Regions from separate parts of the Homo sapiens genome. Here region 2 is linked to region 1. Evidence: promoter capture Hi-C in 16 types of primary human blood cells and fetal thymus (Javierre and others, 2016). All regions are on one chromosome and are shown on one strand. Each heading gives the region's core, a stretch centred on a gene start or on the middle of the fragment in contact. The rest is flanking DNA. Distances are from core to core; before and after follow the strand shown.

What was found. The method cuts DNA at HindIII sites, captures the fragments that hold promoters and counts their contacts. A CHiCAGO score of 5 or more calls a contact.
Region 2: a fragment that was not itself captured here is called in contact with the fragment with the promoter of KDM3A in region 1 in 7 of 17 cell types (endothelial precursors, erythroblasts, M1 macrophages and 4 more); the score reaches 9.9 in endothelial precursors.

Annotation. Positions count from the first base shown.
Region 1 is chr2:86,436,440-86,443,731 of GRCh38, reverse strand. It overlaps KDM3A (lysine demethylase 3A), which reads right to left and starts at 2,361. Exons shown (of 26, transcript NM_018433.6): 1 at 2,288-2,361; 2 at 1,499-1,714. The coding sequence starts at 1,684. RefSeq lists enhancers at 1,518-1,577, 2,568-2,647, 2,728-2,927, 2,749-3,292 and silencers at 1,778-1,827, 2,048-2,437. The HindIII fragment of the contact is 3,261 bases long and covers 568-3,828 here.
Region 2 is chr2:86,746,284-86,753,250 of GRCh38, reverse strand. RMND5A (required for meiotic nuclear division 5 homolog A) reads right to left here. Exons shown (of 9, transcript NM_022780.4): 3 at 1,221-1,355. Among named protein-coding and RNA genes, the nearest start is that of RNF103-CHMP3, 29 kb to the right of the region's middle. The HindIII fragment of the contact is 2,164 bases long and covers 3,068-5,231 here.

The DNA.
Region 1 (7,292 bases), core at 1,112-3,611:
TATGACAGGAGCTCTGCTGTGGCATAGCTCTTGATCACTGGCCTGATGGTTAAGAGGGCAGCTTCTGGAGTAAAACTTCCTGGGTTTGACAGAATACAGGCTATGTCAATTCCTACGTATGTGTCCTTGGCAAGATGCTTAACGTCCCTCAGGCACAGTAGTTTCATCCATAAAATGGGGGCAATATTAGTACCTACCCCCAAGAACTGCTGTAAGGATTAAACGAGATCATAGTTGTGAAGTGCTTGCCACATGGTTAAATGCTCTTCGGTCACTCCTCCTTTTCAACAAGAGACAAGGCACAACACTGAAGCTTTAAAACATGCCTAACAGCATACCCCTTTCCTACAACTCTTTGCAGATAAATACCAGTTTGGGCATACACTGTCACCCTGAAAGTGTTCAAATGAACAGTGTTTCAGAAATCAACATATAATCAACTGCCAATGCTAAAACTTGCTGCCTTTATTTGAACATAGTTTAAGAAAAAGCAAAGATGATGGCCAAGTGAAGATTCTGAAACACATCTACTAGGCAGGGTGGAAATATCTTCTGTTCTGACAAGCTTCCTTCAAGTTATCACCACTTTGGAGTCTTTGTTAGGAACCTTTTTTCAGTTATTTTCGCACAAAGGAGTCTTTGTTGGTACAATGGCTTCCTCACTGCTTGTTCCCAGACAATCCTTTCACATCAATACTTCTATTAGGGAGCACAATCAGAATTCATCTGTCTTTGAAAAGATCTAACAGAAAAAGGTTCTGAGTGTCATAATGATTTAAAAAAAAATCACTGGCCGCACTTGTTCCCAATTCTCTCCCTCCCCTCATGCGTCCAAGTGCAGTATTTCTAAGCCAGTCCTCCAATATGCCATATATGGGACAGCTCCACCCCATCCCTCCATATATGGTCATATCCCACACCCACCCACCGGCTCATCACAGACAACCAGGAACCCACTCCTGCCCTGACCCACCATATACGGACAAACACCCATCCTAATACGCCAAACAGAACTTAAGCTCCTCCCTCTACACTCACTTCATTTTTAACAAGTCTGAAAGTTTTTTTAAAAGTTGAGTGAATAAATTAACAGGAACAAACAAACAAAACCAGCTGAAAGTACTTCCAAGCACTAACCTTCAATTCTTAATGACTCCAAACGTCACTTACAGGCCCTACCTAACGCTAACAAAAATACTCCTCCTCCTCTGCAGTAAAGATGAGACAGTCCTGGTGGGACACAGCACCGGCATTAATGAAGCGTGTCTGAACAACCCTAAGCCCATTATTAAAGCCAGGCAGCCAGGAGCTGTGGGCCAAACACAACTCGGCTCTATACAACCATTCCAAAGACTTTCAAGATCTAGCTTCCTGCACCTTCAGATCATATGCCAACTTTCTGGTCTCCGTTTTCAGAAAACGGAAGGAGGGAACCGATGGTCGCGTTACCACGGTAACTGCGAAACGTCCGGTGGCAGAGGCCCGGAGCCGCCTGTACCTTCAGATCCTTCTTGGTAACGTCGGTGTGGGAAACAGCTCGAATGGTCCCGGAGAGCCAGGGCCACTCGGCGACGCGCTCCACGTCCCAGCTGTCGTGGCTGCCATCGCTGCCGTCGGCTGCGGACAGACTGAGAAACCTCCTCCCCACCAATACCGGCCAACTTTCTCCGAGCGTGAGCACCATGGTTTCCACGCCTGCAGGAAGAGCTCCTCCCTGCAAAAACACAAAAACAAAATGCGACGGGGGCGGCCGGTGGGAGGGGGCCGGGCGGAGACAGCAGGGAGGGCGGGCGGAGGGCGCCGAACCCGCGCGAGGACGCGGCCCCGGGCGGACCCGCACCGAGCCCCCCTCCTGCGCCCTCCCGCCCCCCGCCGCCCTCCCCCGCCACACACCCGGGCCCCAGCGCCGCGTGACCCTCGCTCTCCCAAGTTTGGCTTTTCTAACAGCTCAAACGCAACCGCAGAGGGAGTGAGGGAAAAATTATCTGCGGCTCGAGTGGATTTGAAAGTGCTCAGCCCCCAGCCCCGAAAAGAAAAGGCCCCTGGTGCAGAGAGCCGGTCCCGGGCGGCTGGGTCCCCGCCCCGGGCGGCCCCACGGGGGAGGGTGGGCGAGCCCGCGATTCCGCACTTGCCCCGCCGCCCCGCCCCGGCGCCCAGCTCCCCGGCCCCGAACCCCGGGCGCCCGTCTCCCGGGCCTGCGCCGCTGCCAACGGGCGACGGGGCCGCGCGCTCGGCGCTTTCACCTTTCTCTCCCCTCTCCCCGCAGCCGAGGCCGCGGCGCTCTTACCCCGCCTCCCGCCTCCCTGAGTCACCGGCGGCAGCCGCCGTTTCCAGCCGCCTAGCCGACTCCAGCGCTGACTTGGTTCAAGAGCTCTCACAAGACACGCACAGCCTCCCGGACCCGCCCCCCTCGGAGCCGCTTCCGCCGCTCATTGGCTGAAACACAGGAGCTGGGCGAGGCTCCGGGGGAAACAGATCATCACCATTGGCCCCCCGGGCGAGGGCGGGGCCAGAGAAAAAAACAATTCCTTGGCTGCCTCCTCCCTTTCCCCTCCCCCTTCCGACTCCCGGGCGACCCCCATTAGGTTAAAGTACACAGAGAATAAGCGAGTGATCCCTCCGCCATAGGCCTATTCTTTCCATTTGTTGCCTCACAGTATGCAAAAAAAAAGTCCCGCGAAATCGGTTATCAACTTTGGGGCCCGGAGGAAAATTGCTGTGGCGCATAGATAAGACTGAATGGCGAGACCCTGAGCTATAAGTGCCTACTGGATTGTTCTTCAACCGCGTAGGCTGTCGACCGAAGATGAGCCTTCCACTTGGCGGAAGAATCTCACAGGAAAGGGTGAGGGCGGTGCAGGGTTAGCGGGGGAGGGCAGGGAAGAGAACGTGCGGTTTCAGGCGTACTCAGCTAGAGGGAGGAGCGATAGTGCTCTGGAGGCTCGTGCGCAGGCGCCTCGCCGAGCTTAGGCTGCTGGGCGAAATGGCTGCGGGAGGCGCAGGCGCACGTGGTACTGATCGTGGAACGTCTAAAGTCCGCCATTTTGAAGGATAAATGAAGAAAGGCGTGGAGTTACTGGATAATGACGTTCATTAAATTTAGAGCAAAAGAGACCTTTAAATACAATGTATAATGAGATTTTTTTTTCTCCAAAGTGGGATTGAGAAGGTATTCAGATACTTACAAAGAAATTTAAAGTAGTTGAAGGCCATAATGAATGATGGAAGAGATGAAAGAGAAGGTGACTTTGAAGGACAAAGGAGTTTAGAGGTGATTGTGTGCTCTGGACCTGAAGTATTTTGATTGAATGAAAAAGAAATGGAATGAAGAAATTGAAGATATGTTCATAAAGGCTAGTGTTTGACATTACATCACATTTAATCCTTAAGAAGAACTCATGCCTCCCATTTTACAAGCGTGGAAACGTATAATCAGAGAATGTTTGGAAACATATAAGGGATTATAGATGCAAATCAACTCTGGATGTTGATTTTCAATATACATATTCTGAATGTGATTTTAAGTTTTTAAAGTTAGTAACAAGAATTAAATTGGATTTATAATCTGTAGACCATTTAAAGGAAGGGGGCTGCTAAATGAGAAGAAAAAACCTATCCAGCTGAAAGAAGGCAGAAATGGGAACGAGATAAGCAAAAGAAACCAGAACATATGGTAAAAATGTTTTTCATGTGAAAAGTCCAAACATCAGTATTTACAATAAATGTAAATGGGTTAATTTCACTCACAAGTTTTAAAAGACAGTTGGGAATAAAAGGACAATCCAGCTATAAATTGACCATAAGCAAATGCTTACAAAACAGGAAGCTTGAAAATACTGGGCTAAAATATTTAATCAAATGGTAGCCAAATGAAAGCAGTATAGCAATATTAATACAATTAAAAGTATCAAAAGAGAAAGGATTTTATATTAAAGATAAAGTCCATGAAGACAGTATGGTCTCCTGAACTGTTATGAATCTAAAAACATGGCCTATCCTAAGGTGACGCTATGAACGATGAGAAATTTTACAAATTTGACAATTTGTTTTCAGAGTAGAAGACATAAATATCTCAGAAATATGCAACTCAAATGTAAAATATAAGGGAAGATATGGAGAACTTAGATTATGTAATTAAATATTAATTTGAAAAACAACTCAAGGGAAAAATTCTATTGAACCTGAAGGAACATATACTTTCTATGTTGAATTCATTATTTCAGAGCTTAGAAAAGATGGAAAGATATCCAATGCATTTTATAAAAGTTATAAAACCGTTTCACAAATTCTGAACTGGGCGAGTATAAGAAAGAAAAACTATGGTTCAATTATACTTAGGAACATAGATGGGAAATTCTTTTATAAAATACCAGCAAATTAAATCCAGCAGCATTTTTTTTAGGTAATTGATATGATTAATTAGTGTTATATGAATGCAAAGATACTTCAAGATTAGAAAATTACTAAAATTCACCATGACAGGTTAAAAAAGAAAAATCGTATATTCACCTTAGGGCTAAATAGAGCATGCAGTCACATTGAACACTTGTGATCTTAAGAGTATTTTTAAATTACATAGAAAACTAAGAAGATTATAAGTGTACACTTATATTCAATACCACCCATAATTTTTAAAAAATGTTTTTAAACTTTCTAAAAACCTAGGAATATAAGTTACGTACCACAGAAAAACACCCACACACATATGAACGAAAAAACATCTGCAAATAACCTAAGTGTACTCCAGTTGGAGAAGGAATAAATAAAATTATTAACAATAAATGGAATGTAATGCATATATTGGAAAGTTGTAGAGGATTTGTAAAGGAGTCAAAGCAGCTAGATGTTCCAATAAAAATAGTTACCAAAATACATTATGAATGAAAAAGAAATTTGCATTTGGTACTATTTCAAAATACACATACAAAAACAACAGTATATATGTTCTGTTAAATATGGTTATTAAAACTTACAGTAATGGTTACTGGTATTAGGGGGTGCACACTAGAATTAGGGGTATTAGTCAAAGACAACACATATTATTTGTAATTCTAATTTTTTATAAATACACTTTTTTTGTATTTACATTTTTATCACCTTATTTTTAATTGACAGGTAAAACTATATGGTGTACAATATGATGTTTTGGTATAGATATACATTGTGGAATGGCTATATCAAATTATTTTACATATGCATTCCCTCACATACTCATCTTTTTTTGTGTGGTGAGAACACTTAAAATCCACTCTTAGCAATTTTCAAATATACAATATATTGTCATTAACTGTAGTCACCATGATGTACATTAGATCATTTGAACTTATTCCTCCTGTCTAACTGAAATTTTGTGTCCTTTGACCAACATCTACCCAATCTCCCCACTCCCTGTAATTCTCTCATTTTATAAGGTAAATGTACTCACATGTTACTTTTAAAATTTAATTTTTAACTCTCATTAATGGAATCTGCTACATTAACAAATTAAAGGAGAAAATACATATGATTATCTCAATAGATACACCAAAAATTTTATATACTTCATTTTCATTCATTATAAAAACTCTTAGCAAACTATCAAGAAAAGAAAATTTTATAACTCTATAAAGGATATCTACCAGAAATATACTTAAACATTGTACTTAATTGTGAAATTTTAGAAAAATTCCCAATAAAGTCAGGAGCAAGATAAGGATGCCCAATGCTGTCATTACTATTCAAGTTACAATAGAGGTTAATTGCTAATGTAATAAGACAAGAAAAATAATACAATGTAAACATTGGAATGGAAGAAAAAGCCCAAAACATTTGTAGATAAATCAAAAGCATCAGTGACAAATTATTAGAATTAAAACAAGAATCAAAAAGATAATGCAATAAAAGATCAACAAACGAAAATCAAAAGAATTCCTATTCCTTAGCAAGCATCAATTAGAACATACAGTAGAAAAATAAAAACCATTAATGATAATAAAACATGTAATCCCTAAAAATTAATACATGAAATGAACACAACCTATATGAAGAAAATTAGACTTTGCTGACATGTATAAAGAAGATGAAAAATTCTGTCTCTTGATATGATCTGATAAATATGTCATTTCTCCTCTAACAAAACAACAAATAAAAACATCAAGACATAAATATATAAGTAATGAAGAGAACAAAGAAACAGACCCAGTGTATATTAAAAATTAGTTTGTGATCGACATATTTCTAGTGGGTGTAAAGAATAAACTATGCAATACATGCTTTGAGGTCTATTGATTATCCATTAAAAATGTATATATAAGCCGGGCGCAGTGACTTATGCCTGTAATCCCAGCATTTTGGGAAGCTGAGGTGGCAGATCACTTCAGGTCAGGAGTTTGAGACCAGCCTGGCCAACATGGTGAGACCTCATCGCTACTGTAAAAATTAGCTGGCTGTTGTGGTGCACATCCACAATCCCAGCTACTCGGGAGGCTGAGACAGAAGAATCACTTGAACCTTAAACCCAGGAAGCAGAGGTTGCAGTGAGCTGAGATCACGCCACTGCACTCCAGCCTGGATGACGAAGCAAGACTCTGTCTCAAAAAAAAAAAGTATATAATGTATATATAACCAAGATTCCTACACCAACATTCACGAAAATAAGTTCCAGGTAGATCAAAATGCTACATATTTTAAAATCCAATAAAATATTTTAAAATTCCCTCCTCTCTTCTACTTTTTTCTCTTTCCTTTCCTCTTTCTAAACATTTCAGTCTTGAGGCCATTAGGAGGGGCAGAGCAAGATAGGTGTTAATAAGGAGAGGCTGTCAGCCATGGGATGTTAGAGCTCTAAAGAGTAAGGAGTAATAGCCGGGCATAGACAGTCAGAGCCCAAGTGGGGTGAGAAGGGTAGACACACAAAAGGTTAACCTAGCCTGGGTTATCTAGAGTCCAAGTGAGGTGAGGAGGGCATCCATGAATGGGGGCAGCCTAGTGTGGTATGTTGGAGCCCAAACAGAGTGAAGAGACTGTTTACATGAGAAGAAAGCCTGGCATGAGTAACAGAGCCTGAGGAGGGGGAGGAGAGTGTGTAGGAGAGTGATTTGACATGGATGTCAGACCCCAAGGAGGGTGAGGAGGGCATTCATGTAGGGACCAGCAGTGGGCACTGAAAAGACCAAGAGATCTCTTAGAAGCAGCAGGAGAACCAGGTGAGAGGTACATTCTGGAAGCAAGCCAAAAAGAGTTTCAACTTGGAAGACCATGCAGTAAGGTCAAAGGATACACTGAGGTGAAGACAGATGGAGGACTGAGCAGCA
Region 2 (6,967 bases), core at 2,900-5,399, 310 kb before region 1:
AATAAAGCTGGGTATGGCTTTGTAAGACGTTAAGTTCTGACCAATGAAACATAAATATGCACTCTGCCCCTTTCTGGGATACAAAGGTATGGCTGGAGCTTTGGCTGCTATCCTGGACTCTGAAGACAGGAGACACCCTGGGAATAACAGAGGTACAAGGTGCTAAGTCCCTAAGAGTTTCACAATGCAGAGCTACCAAACATGCTGTGGACGTCTTACTACCGATTTCTGTGCAAGAAAAAAATTTCACTTTTGCTTAAGCCACTGTAATTGTGGGTCTTTTGTTACTTAAAAGCAAACAATCCTCAATGACAGTTTACTGCAGGAAATTACATGGACACATACACAAAATCCCTGTAAGGTACAGAGAAAAACCGAGTTATCATTTATCTGAATTGTTTAAAATAGAAAAGGCTTAGATTAGAGGTTTGGTTTACAGACTGATTTTAAACTAATTCTTTCGGTCCTTCATGTTTCCAAACAAAAATGCAACAGCACATGGTGGCTTAGAACGGAGTGTGAAGACATATGAATCAGGGACTGAATCCCAGTTCTTTCACAAAGAACCTGTTAAGGCCTCGGGCAACTTACTTCTCCAGACCTTAGATTTTTCATCTGTAGAATGGAAACAATAATTTTTACTTCATGGGATTGCAGCAAGGAATAAAGGCAGGGCTTGGCTTAAGGTAAGCACTCAATATATGGCAGCTACTACTATTATGACTACATGGTATTGGTAAACTGTTGTAGAGTTCTAACTCATGTGTGATAGAAATAAAAGACAAATGCTGCTAATGCGAAGTAAAAAATTTTAGCTGGAAATTCATTTGATAAAATCGTTTAAGCTGGGCTAGAACAGAAGAACAAACATCAATGTTTTTGTCCCTTTCCTCTTGTCTGCTATACTAACCTTCTATATCAAAAATGGACATGAAGAAAGAATATCGCTTTTGCGCCCTTTGATTCATGAACTGGGACTAACCTTCTGGGACAGGAACAAGAAAAAAATGATCTGGATAACAAGTTCTAGAACTATAATTTTTGCCACTTAAAAAATTCCCCAAAATACTCCTAGTAAAATGAGGTCATCTCTGATAATTTAAATATTAAAAATCTATCTATAGCTAGAGGAAGACTCAAAACCCCACCCTGCAAATACTATAAACTCCAAGGAGTTCCCTTGTTTCTTTTTCATATCCTCCCAGTTGGCACACTGTTACCTGACAGAGCTCCTCAGCCACATCCAGCATTCCTTGTCGAAAGAAGTGCTCCACCATCACCTCATTGAGAAGCCTTTGGCTGTCTGCCTGCCAGCAGCCATCTATTCCCACACTGCTAATGTCAGAATCAAAATTCTGGGGAAAAGAAAGAGAAAGGGAATCATAAATAGATTATTTTCACCCCACTTAACAGGAAAAAAATGGTCTTTGTTTCAGTCTGAGATACCCCAATAAGAACCCAACTGCAATTTATAGCGTCCCAAAGGAAGGAATTTTTCCACTGCTCCTTTCTAAAACTTGTCATGCTAGAAGAGTAAATAGGTATATTTTTAGATAATGTTTTTTTAAAGTAGATTTAATAATGGTGTCCATGAATAAAATAAAATCAAGCGAATGAACTGATTTCTAGGCATTATATGCAGCAATATTTTTAGAGGAATGCAATGATGACCTGTAAAAGCATGCCCACTGCAGCACTGTCTATAATGGGAGGGGAAAAAAGGAGAAAACACATATGCCTATCAACATAATAATCCATGGCACATCCCAACAACTGCAGTATTGAGGCTGAAAGTGGTTGTGGGGGCATGGCCAACTAGTTAAGAGAGTGGTTTATCTACACCTCTGGGTTTGCCTTTGAGCTATACATGCATGGTCCTGACTCTAAACAGCATACTACAGATTTTGAAAACTGAACTAGGGAATAGACCTAATTCCTAGGTCCCATATTGGCTACCAGGTGTTACACACACAGGACAAATCTAAATAACTGTAATGGCTTTAGAAACAAAACTAACACTGAAACTACAACCCAGAAAAGACTGGTTAGAACTTGTGGCCTGAATCCAACAAGGTTGATTGCCTGCTAAAACAAAAATACCAACACTCTCCACAGAACTTAAACAAGACCCAGAGTACTATAATACATATTCAAAATGTTCAAGATACTGCAAAATTACTTGGCATACAAAGAACCAAGAAAATCTCAACTCACATGGAAAAAGATGATCAACAGACACCAATGCCAACATGACAGAGATGCTGGAACCATCCAAAACTTTAGGGCAGTTATTATAAAAATACAAACAATCTTGAAACAAAGGGAGAGACTTAGCAAGGAAAAAGCTGATAGAGTAACCAAAATAAAAAATTCATTGGATGAATTTTTCAACAGCAGAAGCAAAGTGGCAGTGCAAAAAGTCAGTGAAAATCAATAGAATTCATCCAATCTGAACACCAGTTTAAAAAAAAAAAAAAAACAGAGCCTCAGGGACCTGTGGGAAAATTACAAAAGCTCTAACGTGTGTGTCATCGGAATACTAGGAGAAGAGAAACAGTATGGTACAGAAAAAAATAGTTGAAGAGTATTTCCCAAGTTTAGCAAAAGACATAAATCTCAGATTCTAGAAGGTCAGTGAACTCCAACATGGACAAATTCAAAGAAATCTGACCCAAACATCTCACATTCAAACTGTTAAAACTAAAGATAAAGCAAAAAATCTTGCAGGCAGCCAGAGAAAAGTGACATGTTACTTACAGGGGAACCATGATTCAAATGACTACAGATTTCTCAACAGAAACTATGGAGGCCAGAAAGAAGTGGCATGACATTTGTCAAGTACTGAAAGAAAATAACTGTCATCCTAGAATTCTATATCCAGTGAAAATATCCTTCAGGAATGAAGATGAAATAAAGACATTCTCAGACGGAGGGAAACTGAATTTACTGCCATCAGACTTGCTCTAAAAGTATTGCTAAAGTCTTCAGACAGAAGAAAATGACACCAGAAGGAACATGAAACATCAAGAGTGAAAGAAGAGCAAACGTACATCACAGTGTGAAAGCTTTCCCAGCCTAATTCCACTTCAGCACCCTTTATCTTTCATAGGCATTGCTCCCTAATAAATGTTTTGCATTTCTTTTTAAAAATATATAAACTTAACTAGACAAGGCCATTTAGATTTAACTAAAATTGCAATCCTAGTCAACCACTGCTTAAATATACAGTCCAACCAATATGGGATTATTTTACATGATGTACAAGAACAGGTAGTAAGTAACCAGCAACAGCAACTGCAAACAACCCACTATTTACAATCACAATGCAGGAGTGCTTTTCTCCAAAATTAAGCACATTTTTCTCCCTATAAACAGCTATCTACCCTATCTCTAGATGTGAAAACAGTAGCCTAAAACTGAATACATACATTAAGGTTTGGAATCACTCAAGACAAAACAAACACAAAAAACCAAGAATATTGTCAGTCTTAATTTTTATTCATTTCCTTTTCACAGACATTTTTCTTAGCCAAGTATTTAACCTAAAGAATAGAAATAACGGGGTGGGCATGATGGCTCACTCCTGTAATCCCAGCACTTTGGGAGGCCGAGGTGGGAGGATCACCTGAAGTCAGGAGTTCAAGACCAACCTGGCCAACATGGTGAAACCTCGTCTCTACTAAAAATACAAAATTAGCTGGGCGTGGTGGTGGGTGCCTGTGATCCCATCTACTTGGGAGGCTGAGGAAGGAGAATCGCTTGAACCCAGGGAGGCAGAGGTTGCAGTGAGCCGAGATCACGCCATTGCACTCCAGCCTGAGAGACAGAGCAAGACTCCATCTCAAAAAAAAAAAGAAAGAAAAAGAAATAATACAAAGTACCTAGATGCTAAAGCAAGAGCATCCATGCATATAATGAAAAAACTGTTAACTAGCACTGAAGAACCACAACTGCTTGTATAAGATTATGTTTAATTTCTATTTATCAGATTCTGCCTGTTGAGAGCTAATTTTATAACAGTTCATCAGTATTTTTAAGTAAATTATTTTATCTTTATGCTGTCTATGACAACTACAACACCGGAGATGGTACTGCTTTCTGTCTCTTCTGGAGTAGAGCTCAGAGGCTGATCAACGCTGTTCTCTCCCAAATTCCACTTCCCAAAGGGCCATTCAAATGCATAAAGGAATGGGTTTCTAAAGATCTGAAGATGAGTTTATTACAAACTCAGGAACCTGCCCATAACTCTCTAAATGTCTAAATGCACAGTATAAGGAAAGAATAGAGAGATGAATTAAGAAAGTTCTCTCACTAACTTATCAACTGCATTAAATCCAAATACAACCTTCAGGTTTCTACTTATTCATTTAATGATTTTTCCCCAAACAACAAATTTATTAGTACCTATTCCTTAGGGAAAAATAAAACAACGCTGGAAGACACGCTGGTCAGCTCAAAGCACAGATCATGTTGAAACAATTTTATCCGGTAATATATATATTAGGTCAGAATTTTAATAAGCTACCATCTGACAGTACTTGCTCAGATCAAACAAAATAATCCCTTCAATTCTTTCCTTAATATACATATTAAAAGTAAATATTCATCAACTAGAAAATTACAAAAAGAGTCTAATATTTAAACAATTTTCTTTGGGTTTGCTACAAAGTTTTACAACAATGCCCTATGTGTATCTCTATTTTCTTAAGGCTTACTATGGTCACTACTACATAGGTAAGAAAAGTCAAACACCCTTACACTCAAAATCTAACTACATTCAAGCTCGTAACTTATTTGCTGCTCTTGGAAAAGAAGCATGAATAAGCAATGCATTCGATTGTTTTCTGGACACTTCTGAGCTCCCTTCTACCATTCTGATTTTCCAGTATAAACTACTGAGGTAGATAAGTAAACTTCCATAGCTTATTTTCTGGTCACATGCATTAAAAATTAAAGCTAAGATTATAAAATATATAGAGGTTGAGGAAATGCAATACACTGTCAAACTCCTTTTGTTATAACTGCAGGTTCTTACTCACTGTTGCATCAGAGCTAGCATTAGTTCCAGCTTCTGTTGCTAGGTAACCAAGCTCATTTGCATGGCTGTCCAGAAAATCCACAGCACTGCAAACCAGCCAAGAGGTGGCTAATGAAGAGAAATACCATCTATAATTAACATCTTCTGTCTTACTATACTTTTTCTTTTCATATTTTTTAAGCAAAGAAAAGCTTTGGCATCCTGTTCTTAATTGGGAAGAAAGGATCCAAACAAGAACCAAAAGCAAAAAAGCACACATCCAAGGGTGTGTCCATCCGGAGAGGATGTTCTGACTTGGAAGGAGAAATCCAGGACATACTAAATCTAGAAGCTGAGGCAGAAGAGGAGTAAATAACTTTGATACAACATCATTATGAAAGTGTGCGATCTAAACAGGCCGTATCATGCCGTATCATGAATACACAAATCAGTCGGAAATGGCTTTCACTGTTTACCGTCAAAAACCCATCCGTTTCTCAAATATATTTTATAAAATTATAATGACTGAGCAGACAGTGGTCACAATATATATAAAACTCAGTATTTAATTCCTAAGTACCAATTCCCTAATAGTATTAACATGTATTTTGAAACTTCTCCATCTACTTTGAAGAAAAATTAGTGTATGAACCAACAAAATGTGCTATTGTTGCACCTACCAGGAATTAATTTCCCTTTTAAGCATCCAGTTAATCTGGTTTAGCAGTGAGAGGCAGACAGCAAAGGATACTTAACAGAGTAAGAAGACCTGGATTCTGGTTCTCCTCAGACTAACAGACGATAGCTACTTCGCATACAAACCACACAAGATTAGTATTCAGAAGAGTTTGAAACAAACACACACCTCTCAATAAGAAAGATAACTTAACAGAAAAAATGGACAGAACATGAAATGCACAAATGGGAAATTCCTAATGTTAAACATGAGAAGATGCCCCACCTTCAAGATGGTCAAAGAAAGGCAAAATTAGTACAACTAGATACTACTTCACACCCATCTGATTAATCTTTAAACATTTGAAGTCTGATAATACCAGGTATAGGTGAGAAATGAGGAAGCAGGAAGTGTTATAGGTGTTTGGTAGGGCTGTAAATTGGTATAAACCCTTCAGGGGAAAATTTTACAATACCTAGTAAAGCTGATAATGAGGCACCTGTCCTATGATGAAATAATCCATATTTAGGCATATACCAGATAGCAGTGCTTTACAAACCAAGGGCTGGAAAATAAACTTGGTAGTGTGTCATAATCAGCATTTTGTAGATGCATTTTTTGATGTAGACATTCCATATTCTCCTTACGGTATTTATACCTCTTCTTTGGTTATCAACATTAAGAGAAAGGTAGATTCACACTGTTATGTTATTGCTTTATTTAAAAAATGAGGGAGTAACGTGCCAAACCACTCTGCCAGGCCTTTCTGTCACATTTGCATCCCTATCCCTCCACTATTAGTTATCTGCCTTTCTGTGGCTATTTTATTAATTCTTCCAAGGATGATATGTATCTCTTACCATTCTATGGAAAGGAGAGAAATTCATATGTAGAGTGGGTGCCCTCAGGGCACTAGAGATGAATTCTCTCAAGGAACTCCAGTTGAGAAAGGTTCCTCCAAGTCTTAAAATCTGGGTTTTAATCCCAACTCTGTGACTTCAGGCAGGTTACTTACAAATCTAAGTTTTCACATCTGTATCTAGAGACAATAATCTCGACCTTACAAGTCTTTGGTGAAGATAAAGGTAAATAATGTACATGAAAACCTCTATGAGTATCCATCCATCAGTAAACCTTTAATACACAGTAGCTGAATCTGAGAGCCAGGCCAAACCTAACCAAAGCTGAATCTGAGGGCCAGGTTGCCACCAAACCTTCTGCTTCTGTATTTAAAAGAATCCTTATTAGAAAATATAAACAAAAACAAATACACG